Regions from separate parts of the Homo sapiens genome. Here region 2 is linked to region 1. Evidence: promoter capture Hi-C in human tissues and cell types (Jung and others, 2019). All regions are on one chromosome and are shown on one strand. Each heading gives the region's core, a stretch centred on a gene start or on the middle of the fragment in contact. The rest is flanking DNA. Distances are from core to core; before and after follow the strand shown.

Region 1 (6,067 bases), core at 2,183-4,682:
ACCACCATGCCTGGCTAATTTTTAATTTTTTTGTAGAGATGGGATCTCTCTATGTTGACCAGGCTGGTCTTGAATTCCTGGGTCCAAGCCATCCTCCCCCTTCAGCCTCCCAAAGTGCTGGGATTATAGGTGTGAGCCACCGTGCCTAGCTCACTGTTGCTTTTGTTGTTGTTGTTGTTGAGATGTTTCTCTTTTTAATTTTTTTCTTAATTTTTAATTTTTGTGGGTACATAGGTGTATAAATTTGGAGGTACATGAGATGTTTTAATAAGGCATGTAATGGTTAATAATCACCTCATCGAAAATGGGGCATCCATCCCCTAAAGCATTTATCCTTTGTGTTACAAATAATCCAATTATACTCTTTCAGTTATTTTAAACTGTACAATTAAGTTATTATTGACTACAGTCACTCTGTTGTGCTATCAAACACTAGGTCTTATTCATTTTTCTTTTTTTTTGGTACCCATTAACCGTCCCACCTCCCCACCCCTTCCAGACTCTGGTAACTATCCTTCTACTCACTATCTCCATGAATTCAATTGTTTTGTTTAAATCTTTTTCCTTTTTTTTTTTTTTGAGATGTAGTCTTACTTTGTCACCCAGGCTGGAGTACAGTGGCACGATCTTGGCTCACTGCAACCTCCGCCTCTCATGATCAAGCAATTCTCGTGCCTCAGTCTCCTGAGTAGCTGGGACCACAGGTGTGCACCACCATGCCGGCTAATTTTTTTATTTTTTATTTTTAGTAGAGATGGAGTTTTCCTATGTTGGCCAGGCTGGTCTTGAACTCCTGACCTCAGGTGATCCTCCTGCCTCAGCCTCCCAAAGTGCTGGGATTACAGGCATGAGCCTCCGCACCAGCCAATCTCACAATCTCATTCTTTTTAATGGCTGAATAATATTCCATTCTGCATATGTACCATATTTTCTTTTCTTTTTTTTTTTTTTGAGATGGAGTCTCGCTCTGTTGCCCAGGCTGGAGCACAGTGGCGTGATCTCGGCTCACTGCAAGTTCCGCCTTCTGGGTTCACGCCATTCTCCTGCCTCAGCCTCCTGAGTAGCTGGGACTACAGGCGCTTGCCACCACGCCCGGCTAATTTTTTGTATTTTTAGTAGAGATGGGGTTTCACCGTGTTAGCCAGGATGGTCTCCATCTCCTGACCTCATGATCCGCCCGCCTCGGCCTCCCAAAGTGCTGGGATTACAGGCGTGAGCCACCGCACCCGGCCCATATGTACCATATTTTCTTTATCCATTCACCTGTTGATGGACACTTAGGTTGCTTCCAAATCTTGGCTATTGTGAATGGCACTGCAGCAAACATGGAAGTGCAGATATCTTTTTGATATACTGATTTCCTTTCCTTTGGGTACATACCCAGCAGTGGGATTGCTGGATCATGTGGTAGCTGTATTTTTAGTTTTCTGAGGAACCTCCGAACTGTTATCCACAGTAGTTATACCACTGTTGCTTTTTGAGGGTCCCATCAAACTTCAGGGCAATTTGCCAACTGTATGTGGAGGTTTTCTTGGGAAGGATCTGGAGCTTTTGCACTGCGGTGAGGGGTGATGCAGACTTGAGAATCCTGTGGCATGGCTGGTCCTGGAGGATTAGCAGAATCCCCCTTTTGAGGGTTGTTGGCTTTTCTTCCTGATCTGTTTCTTCTGGTTCCTCTGCTCTCACATCTCCCTGTGTTGACCTGAGCTATTGCATGTAGCCAAGTGGCCTGCAGCAATCTGCTGGTGGGCAGGTCTTGCTGGATGCAGTGTTGGCCCACTCTCCATGCCCAACCTGACATCAGGTCTCAGGCTTCTGCCAGCTCTCCAAGAGGACCTTACTGTGGTAAATCCAAGTTATCACAGTCTTTACTCGTCTGTTGAGTCTGTGGGCCTGAACCCCCTCAGGGTACTGGAGAACCTCCCTTTTTTTTTTTTGAGACAGAATTTTGCTCTGTCACCCAGGCTAGAGTGTGGTGGCGTGATCTCAGCTCACTGAACCTCTGCCTCCCAGGTTCAAGTGATCCTCCTGCCTCAACCTCCTGAGTAGCTGGGATTACAGGCACCTGCCATCACGTCCAGCTAATTTTTGTATTTTTAGTAGGGACAGGGTTTCACCATTTTGGCCAGGCTGGTCTCGAACCTCTGACCTCAAGTGATCCACCTTCTTTGGCCTCCCAAAGTGCTGGATTACAGGCATGAGCCACTGCGCCTAGCTAGGAGGACCTCCCCTTCTGAACCAGTTATGGTATCCCAGGGCCAGGAAGAAGCTGAAAGCCTTCTGTGGGAACAAAACAAAGCAAAACAAAAACGCTTCATGGGGCTTCCACCAAAGTTAGTGTTTTAAGGCACGCCTCAGGAACAGCAACTTGGAAGCAGGTTGTTCCAGGAAGTGGTTGTAGGCAGATTTTTCCTGAGTTCTTCCCCTGCTCTGAGGGCTCATTAAATCTTCCTCTGAGAAGCTCCACTTTTATCTTCATTTTACAGATGGGACAACCAAAGCTAAAGAGAGGCTAAGGCTCAAAAGTCAGAGTTAGCTAGTTGGGGCATTTGGGTGTGGGCCCAGGCCACGTAACTTCATCTGTTGTTCTAAGCCTGAAGCCAAGCCCAGAGTTAGGTGTTCTGTATGGGGAGCAAGGTGTGACCATCTTCCTGGGACCATTAGTCTGCTTGGGAGGCCGGTCATGACAGTCCAGGGCAAAAGATGCTGTCACAGGATCTCAAGACAAGATGCTCTAGGGAAGAGAAAAGGGAGTGCCCGCTGTGTGTCAGGACTTGTGCTAGGCTCTAAACCTCAGGCAGGAAAGCATGGGCAATGAGCCAGAGGCTGCTGTGGCAGCACAGACTGCGGTACCTCGAGGCTAGTAAGGGACAAAGCGTGGGAAGCTGGGATAGAGGCTCCTCACACTCTGAAACCAGCAGGAGGAGGTGCGAGACCCAGCACCTCCATTTCTAGAGGTGGCGTGACCTTGGCTCGGCCTCCCCTCTCTGAGCCTCAGTTTCCTCTCCAGAGTGAACTGGGGGCTGCACCCCCCTTCTCCCAGAGTGGGGGACAAAAAAACGAATAGCACACCGCTGAGATTCCCTGTGTGTGCGCAAGTGTATGACAAGACGCCGCCGGTACCGCACGAGGGCCAGGGACGCAGAGAGGCCAAGGGCGCTCCGGCCTCGTAGTAGCCAGCGAAAACTCCGCCGCCAGCCACTCCGGGAACGAAGCGCATGCGCCAACCCATGCCGTCACAGTCACGTGCCCCACGCTTTCGGCAGAGGCCCTGAGAGGCAGACTCTGACTGACACGTGAGCTGACCTGTCAGCAGGAAGCACTTCCCCTGGCGACGAGCAAAAAGACTGTTGATTGGGGATAGCACCCCCTCGGGGGCGGGTTCTTTGCAGTCCTGGTTACTATGACGCCCGGCCCCCGCCCCCTCGGCTAGCCGCCATCTTGTTGTTGATCCGTACCCAGTGGGCAGCGCCGGGAGCTGGACCAAGCGGCCGGTGAGAGGCCGCTGTAGCGGTGCTCAGCCACCTGTGCTGCCTGCCAGGGGGCGGGCCGAAACCTGGAGGCCCGGGGGGCCCAGCTCCCGTAGGGAGCCGTGGGCGCTCGGTGCCCGGGCCGGGCAGGTGAGTGACAGGAGCCGGGCCGATAGACCGGCCTGACGCCCGCGGGGAGGGCGGTGGCGGGCGCGGGGTTGGAGTGGGCGCGTGTGGGGTCGGGGCTCCGGTGGGGCCATCACTGGAACATCGCTCGAGCGTCCTGACCGGCCGCCCGCCGAGCCTCCCAGATGCTGGCACCGAAGCCGGGGGGACAGCCGGTGTGGAGGACGGAGAGCGCCAGTGCCTGAGGGTTGGCCGGCTAGTAGCGGGAAACCAGCTTCTCTGACCGAAGCTCTGGACTCCGCTGATCCGGAGCGCTAAAGTGTGTCCGGTGCCACCCTGATGCTCTCCTGGGAGTTATGTTGCTCCTGGCTGAGAAATAGACTTACCTCTTTCTTAGATAGCGTTCCTGCGAGTGATTTTCAGGACGCTGGATGCTAAGACTAGACGAAGCAAGCCAAAGCCCCCGCGAGCCAGGCAGGCCGGTGTCACGGCCCTATGATTATGGCAAGGGGGACCCTCTGCCTGGCTGCTGCTTCCTGAGACCCGTTCGGAACCTCACGTGTACCTCGAAGCTCACCGTTTTCCTCGCAAAGAACCTGGTTAAATGTCCATAATGGCTGAGTTTTATTTTGGAACATAATTTCTTTGGTTCTTCACCACCACTTTTTGGAGAGTGGTAATGTCTTCCTCTTTTTGCTTTAGGAGAAAGTGAGTATTATGGTGATGACTTGATTTTATCTCCTAAAGGGATGCTCGCCATAGGAGACAAAGGAAACGTAGGAGTGTCTTAGAATCGGAAAAAGAAACTTGTTTTTGTTGTGGATGATATGGAACTGGCAAATTAACTGTTTTTTTTCTTTTTTTTCTTTTGAGACAGAGTCTCTCGCTCTGTTGCCCAGGCCGGAGTGCAGTGGCGCGATCTCGGCTCACCACAGCCTCCACCTCCCGGGTTCAAGCGATTATCCTGCCTCAGCCTCCCGAGTAGGTAGGACTACAGACACGCGCCACCATGCCCGGCTAATTTTTGTATTTTTAATAGAGACGGGGTTTCACCATGTTGGCCAGGCTGGTCTCGAACTCCTGACCTCGTGATCCACCCCCCTTGGCCTCCCAAAGTGCTGGGGTTACAAGTGTGAGCCACTATGCCCGGCGCAAATTAACTTTTAACAGTACTAAAATTATCTTGCTCAGTGAAAACACCTTCAAGCCCCTTTCCTGTGAATTTGGGCAAGTTGGAGATCCTCAGTAGAGTGTGCAGGTCTAGGAAGAGTTCTCATTGCTCCAAAACACATTTCTCTTGACCTGTGGCCTCTTTGGTTCTTTGTACAGTCTTCTTGTATGTGGTCATAGAATATGCCTGCATGAGATGACTAAGAAGTCAAGCGACAATACTTTGTGCACTTTTTGTTTTGTTTTGTTTTGTTTTGTTTTTTTGAGATGGAGTCTTGCTCCGTTGCCAGGCTGGAGTACAGTGGTGCCATCTCGGCTCACTGCAACCTCTGACTCCCTGGTTCAAGCAATTTTCCTGCCTCAGCCTCCCGAGTAGCTGGGACTACAGGCACGTGCCACCACACCTGGCTAATTTTTGTATTTTTAGTAGAGACGGGGTTTCACTATGTTGGCCAGACTGGTCTCGAACTCCTGACCTCATGATCAACCCGCCTCCGCCTCCCAAATTGTTGGGATTACAGGCATGAGCCACCGCGCCAAGCCTACTTTTTTTTTTTTTTTCTGAGACGAAGTCTCGTTCTCTCACCCAGGCTGGAGTGCAATGGCACAATCTCAGCTGACTGCAACCTCTGCCTCCTGGGTTCAAGCAAGTCTCCTGCCCCAGCCTCCCAAGTAGCTGGGATTACAGGTGCGTGCCACCATGCCCGGCTAATTTCTGTATTTTTAGTAGAGACCTGGTTTCACCATGTTGTTCAGGCTGATCTCGAACTCCTGACCTCCTGATCCGCCTGCCTTGGCCTCCCAAAGTGCTGGGATTACAGGCGTGAGCCACTGTGCCTGGTCACGCGCCTAGCCTACTTTGTGCACTTCTATCAGGATCTTGTCACCTCTGAATGTATAATTTTGAAAGAGGCCAGGTGCGGTAGCTCATGTCTGTAATCCCAGCACTTTGGGAGGCTGAGGCGGGCGGATCACCTGAGGTCAGTAGTTAAGAGATTAGCCTATCCAAAATGGCAAAATCCCATGTCTACTAAAAATACAAAAATTAGCTGGGCGTGGTGGTGCATGGAGGCTGAGGCAGGAGAATCACCTGAACCCGGAAAGCGGAGGTTGCAGTGAGCTGAGATCGCGCCACTGCACTCCAGCCTGGGTGACAGAGTGAGACTCAGTCTCCAAAAATAAATAAATAAATAAATAATAAATAAAATAATAATTTTGAAAGAAACCAGCTCCTTGGTCAGGAGATCCTTTAGGAAAGCAGGTGCTGAACCCAGAGGACGCTGGCAGCTTGTTGCTGTTCG
Region 2 (5,777 bases), core at 2,299-4,798, 41 kb after region 1:
TCCCCTTGCTTGCATTACCGCCGGAGCTCTGCCTCCTGTCAGACCAGCGGTGGCATTAGATTCTCATAGGAGCATGAACCCTATTGTGAACTGCACATGTGAGGGATCTAGGTTGAGTGCTCCTTATGAGAAACTAATGCCTGATGATCTGTCACTGTCTTCCATCACCCCAAGATGGGACCGTCTAGTTGCAGGAAAACAATCTTAGAGCTCCCAAGGATTCTACATTATGGTGAGTTGTATAATTATTTTATTGTATATTACAATGTAGTAATAGAAATACAATGTACAATAAATGTACAGCCTCAATCATGCTGAAACCATCGCCCCCACACCCGTTCTGTGGAAAAGTTGTCTTCCATGAAACTGGTTCCTGCTGCCAAAAAATTTGGGGACCACTGTCCTACAGCTCAGCAATGAATGGCCTGCCTGGTCCTTGGCACCTTCAGTGGAGAATTTGGGAATCTCATGTGACCTAATTCCTCAGACAGAAACCCTTCCTCTGAGTGAAGGAGAGACCCTTACCAGTACTGGATATCCTAAGGAGTCTGAACAGAACAAATTCCCATTGCCTTCTGTTTTTTTCTGATCTCATCTTTGGGTGTGAAGTAAACCGGGATAGGTGCTTTCCTGATGGTTGTAATGTGCTGTAGCTCTAAAATAAAATCCTTTAGATAACTCAGAAGGGAGGTGGGAACTAGGAAAGGCAGAGAATGTGGGCTTCTGTGCACAAGATAGATGGAAGAGGCCAAGGTTGCATCATTCAGCAAAAATTTAACCAACTGCCTTTCATGTGCCACGTAGTATTGTACGTGCTAGGGATACACATAGTAGGGAACAAAACAAGAGTCCCTGCTCTCACTCATGGAGCTCCAGGGAAATTGTGACTCACCCAGTGTTTTGATTCCTTCTTCCTCTCTTCTTTTCTGTAGGACAGAATAATAAGCTGAATAGAATCTGACCATTGGCTTTCACCTGGCCAGGACCTTCTATGTAGCTCTCCTTTTGTGGCCCATGTGCTGCATCCTCTGCCCTCAGTGTGCAACTGGCCCCCAACGCAATGTGTGTTTGTCAAACCATGGAAGTGGGGCAGTATGGCAAGAATGCAAGTCGGGCTGGAGACCGGGGAGTCCTCCTGGAGCCCTTCATCCACCAAGTAGGCGGACACAGCAGCATGATGCGTTACGACGATCACACTGTGTGCAAGCCCCTCATCTCCCGGGAACAGCGCTTTTACGAGTCCCTCCCTCCCGAAATGAAGGAGTTCACCCCTGAATACAAAGGTCAGTCACTGGCCAGTTTAATGAAAGCAGCAGCCTTGGGCTTATAGACCCCTTGCCACAGTTTTTTCTTGGTTTGTTTGCCATGATATATCATTGTAGGTCTTTTTTCTCAAAGCACGAAGTCACTTTGTTAGATAAAATTAGAGGCTGAAAGCATCAGCAAGGTCTTTAGATCTTGAAAATTGAATTTATTAATAGGTAAAGCTGAGAAAAAGTCATAGCATTAAGTTCCATTGGTGGAAAAGAGCATGCTGTTGTCAGTGAATTTTCCCATTTGCTGTGACACTAGTCTGGGAGAGAAGAGGGAACATTTCTCTCGTCCCGGAGGCGGAATGGATACTTCCAGGTTAAAGCGGTTAGATAGCTGGCAGTGGTGCTGTGTGTATCCTGTGTCTATATGTGCTGGGGCAAAGAATTGTTGGTAAGAAATGCAGGGACTTTCTGGGGCCTGGAAGTCCTGATATTTGAAGGAAAAATAATTTATTTTAAAATATAAGTCAACTTTATAGAAAAGAACCTCATGAATATTAATTATACCAGAATTAACTAACTTTATTTTAAAATCTGATCTTTGTCAGTGTTTATAAATTTTTATGATTGCTCATTGTGTCTAAGTTTTTTTTTTACATTCTGCTTTATAACTTTAAGTTGTATGATTTCAGTCAGGTTAACACTGTCCTTTACTTAGGAGAGTTTCAATTTAGAAAAACCAGTGCTATAGAATTGACTTTTTGTTTCCTTAACTTTTTAAAAAAAATTTTGGTAAAATGTACATAACATAACATTCACCATTTTAAAGTGTATAATTTAGTGGCATTAACACATTCACAATGTTGTATAGCCACTGTCCATTTCCTGAATTTTTCATCATCTGAAACAAACTCGGTACCTATTAAATAATAACTCCCCATTCTTCCATCATCTGATCCCCTGGTAACCTCTTGTTTACTTTCTGTCTCTACAGATTTGCCTATTGTAGATATTTCATAAAAGTGAAATCATTACAATTTTTGACCTTTTGTGTCTGGCTTGGTTCATTTAGCTTAATGTTTACAAGGTTCGTTCATGTCATAGTGTGTATTAAAACTCCATTCTTGGCCGGGCACAGTGGCTCACATCTGTAATCCTAGCACTTTTTTTTTTTTTTTGAGAGTTTCTCTCTGTTGCCAGGCTAGAGTGCAGTGGCGCGATCTTGGTTTACTGCAACCTCCAACTCCCGGGTTCAAGCGAAGCGATTCTCCTGCCTCAGCCTCCCAAGTAGCTGGGATTACAGACATGTGCCACCACGCCCAGCTATTTTTTGTATTTTTAGTAGAGACAGGGTTTCACCATGTTGGCCAGGATGGCCTTGATCTCCTGACCTTGTGATCCGCCTGCCTCGGCCTCCCAAAGTGCTAGGATTACAAGCGTGAGCCACCGTGCCTGGCCCACTTCATTCTTTTTTATGGCTGAATAATATTTAATTGTAAGTGTATACCACATTTTGTTTATTCATTCATCTGTTGATGGACACCTGGGTTGTTTCCACCTTTTGGCTATTGCGAATAATGCTGCTGTGAACATTGTCTTACAAATGTCCATATGAGTCACTGCTTTTAATTCTTTTGGGTATATGCCTAGGGGTGGAATTGTCAGATCATGTGGAAGTTCTTTGTTTACCTTTCGGAGGAACTGCCAAACTGTTTCCCACAGTGGCTGCACCACTTTGCCTTCTTACCAGCAATGTACAAGGGTCCCTATTTCTCCACATCCTTACCAACACTCCTTTTCTTTTCTTTTTGTAGCCATCCTAGTGGATGTGTGTGGTATCTGTGGCTTTGACTTGCTTTTTCCTAATGTCTAACGAATGATGCAGAGGATTTTTTTGTTATTGTCTGTTGGTATACCTTCTTAAAGAAATGTCTATTCAAGTCCTTTGACCATTTTGAATTGGGTTGTTTCTGTCTTTTTTTTTTTTTTTTTTTGAGACAGAGTCTTGCTCTGTCGCCCAGGCTGGAGTGCAGTGGCACGATCTCGGCTCACTGCAATCTCCACCTCCGTGTTCAAGCGATTCTTCTGCCTCAGCCTCCCAAGTAGCTGGGATTACAGGCATGTGCCACCACGCCTAACTAAATTTTGTATTTTTAGTAGAGATGGGGTTTCACCATGTTGGGCAAGCTGCTTTCGAACTCCTGACTTTAGGTGATTTGCCTGCCTTGGCCTCCCAAAATGCTGGGATTACAGTCATGTGCCACCATGCCTGGCTAATTTTTGTATTTTTAGTAGAGACGGGGTTTTGCCATATTGGCCAGGCTGGTCTCAAACTCAACTCAGGTGACCTACCTGCCTTGGCCTCCCAAAGTGTTGGGATTATAGGTGTGAGCCACCATGACTGGCCTGGGTTGTTTCTTAATTGGCAGAAAGAGGTGAACCAGTTTTTAGGACATCTCAAGCTTTTTAAATTTCATTTTTATTTTAATTAACCTCAGGGATTTTACTTATGCTTGGAATGTTCTTTCCAGTACCCTTATCCACACCTGCTCCTCCAACCTTTAGTTTATTAGGTCTCCCCAGACACTTCTTCCCTGATCATCCTATATTATATTCTGCTCTGGAAACCATATTTTCAGTGATAGAACCTTACTTAGTTTCTTCATAGCACTTATCACAATCTGTATTTTTGTCTATGTGTTTGTTTTTCACATTAGTATGGAAGCTCCTTGAAGGTATGGACTTTTTTTTTTGTCTTTTACACTTATGAGTTCAGGGCCTGGCATCTAGTAGATGGTCAGTAAATACTTGATAAATGAATGAGGCAAAGCTTATTTGCATAAATGTACAGAAGCCTTGAACTTCACATTTAGTACTGCAAGCACTAACAGTTGATGATTGTAGCTGGTCATACTAAATAAATGAAAATTTGTTTTTAAACCTGCCAAGATATGAAATATTATTGACACTTTTTCTTAGCTTAATTGAGCTTAAACACCTGTGCTGATAGCAGCAATTAGATGTGTGTATGTGTGTGGGCTAGTAATCATACATGTATTTCTTAGCTCCATGTGCTGAAAGGGCCTAAAAGCAGTGATACTTCAGTAGCAATCAGTATATCTAGTAACCAAATCCTGAGTTTTCTAAATACCATTCTTACAATAAAAAGAAACAGAGCTCCTTGGTGAAATGGTTGGTTCCTGAGTTCGGGCAGGAAAATTATAAGACAAGCCTAGAACATCTTATGGTGACAGATAGTAAAGAAGTGGTCAAAAATCATGTCAGAAGTACGAAGAGCTAACTTTAAAGGAATTGAAGGGCCCAATCTAGAAGAATTTAAATGACAAAATATCCACAAGTCTATACTGATAAATACATGGATATGAAGGGACAACTCTTCCTTATAGAATTCTAATTTCTTTTTTTTTTTTTTTTTTTTTTTTTTTGAGACGGAGTCTCGCTCTGTTGTCCAGGTTGGAGTGCAGTGGCGCAGTCTCGCCTCACTGCAAGCTCTGCCCCCCGGGTTCACGCCATTCTTCTGCCTCAGCCTCCCGAGTAGCTGGGACTACAGGCTCCCGCCACCAAGCCTGGCTAATCTTTTGTATTTTTAGTAGAGACAGGGTTTCACCATGTTAGCCAGGATGGTCTCAATCTCCTGACCTTGTGATCCACCTGCCTCGGCCTCCCAAAGTGCTGGGATTACAGGAGTGAGCCACCGTGCCCGGCCAGAATTCTGATTTATTTTGATTAATAAATATAGAAGGAATGATGGGAATAGAAGTCACCATTAGGCAGACAACACAGTAATACCATTCAGCACACACCATTAGGCATTACACACACCATTAGACATTACAACACAGTAATAATTGTGGCGCATTGTGCAGTGGTGCAATCATACCTCACTGCAGCCTCGAAACCATGGCTCCGCCGGGCATGGTGGCTCATGCCTATAATCCTAGCACTTTGGGAGGCCGAGGCAGGCGGATCACCTGAGGTCAGGAGTTCGAGACCAGCCTCGCCAACATGGTGAAACCCTGTCTCTACTAAAAATACAAAACTTAGTTGGGTGTGCTGGCAGGTGCCTATAATCCCAGTTACTTGGGAGGCTGAGGCAGAAGAATCACTTGAACCCGGGAGGCAGAGGTTGCAGTGAGCAGAGACCACGCCATTGCATTCCAGCCTGGGCAACAAGAGTGAAACTCTTGTCTCAAAAAAAAAAAAAAAACAAAAAAAAAAAACTATGGCTCAAGTGATCCTCCCACCTCAGCCCCCCGAGTAGCTGGGACTATAGGCACGCCACTACAACTAGGTAATTTTTAAAGTTTTTTGTAGAGACAGGGTCTTGCTCTGTTACCCAGGCTAGTTTTGAACTCCTAGCCTCAAGGAATCCTCCCACCTTGGCCTCTCATAGTGCTGAGATTTAAGAGATCGGACCTCACTATGTTGCCTGGGCTAGTCTTGAACTCCTGGTCTCAAGTGATCCTCCTCCATGAGGCATGATACCTCAGCCTCCCAAGTAGC

What was found. The method cuts DNA at HindIII sites, captures the fragments that hold promoters and counts their contacts. A contact is called where the count stands out against the background at its distance.
Region 2: a fragment that was not itself captured here is called in contact with the fragment with the promoter of IP6K1 in region 1 in 3 of the 25 tissues and cell types used here (liver, lymphoblastoid cells and mesenchymal stem cells).

The regions. Positions count from the first base shown.
Region 1 is chr3:49,783,907-49,789,973 of GRCh38, reverse strand. IP6K1 (inositol hexakisphosphate kinase 1) reads left to right here and starts at 3,432. Exons shown (of 6, transcript NM_153273.4): 1 at 3,432-3,620. RefSeq lists silencers at 1,579-1,788, 2,569-2,733, 3,469-3,818 and enhancers at 2,909-2,978, 3,065-3,754. The HindIII fragment of the contact is 27,523 bases long and covers 1-6,067 here.
Region 2 is chr3:49,743,324-49,749,100 of GRCh38, reverse strand. IP6K1 (inositol hexakisphosphate kinase 1) reads left to right here. Exons shown (of 6, transcript NM_153273.4): 2 at 933-1,283. The coding sequence starts at 1,061. Among named protein-coding and RNA genes, the nearest start is that of GMPPB, 22 kb to the right of the region's middle. The HindIII fragment of the contact is 3,402 bases long and covers 1,848-5,249 here.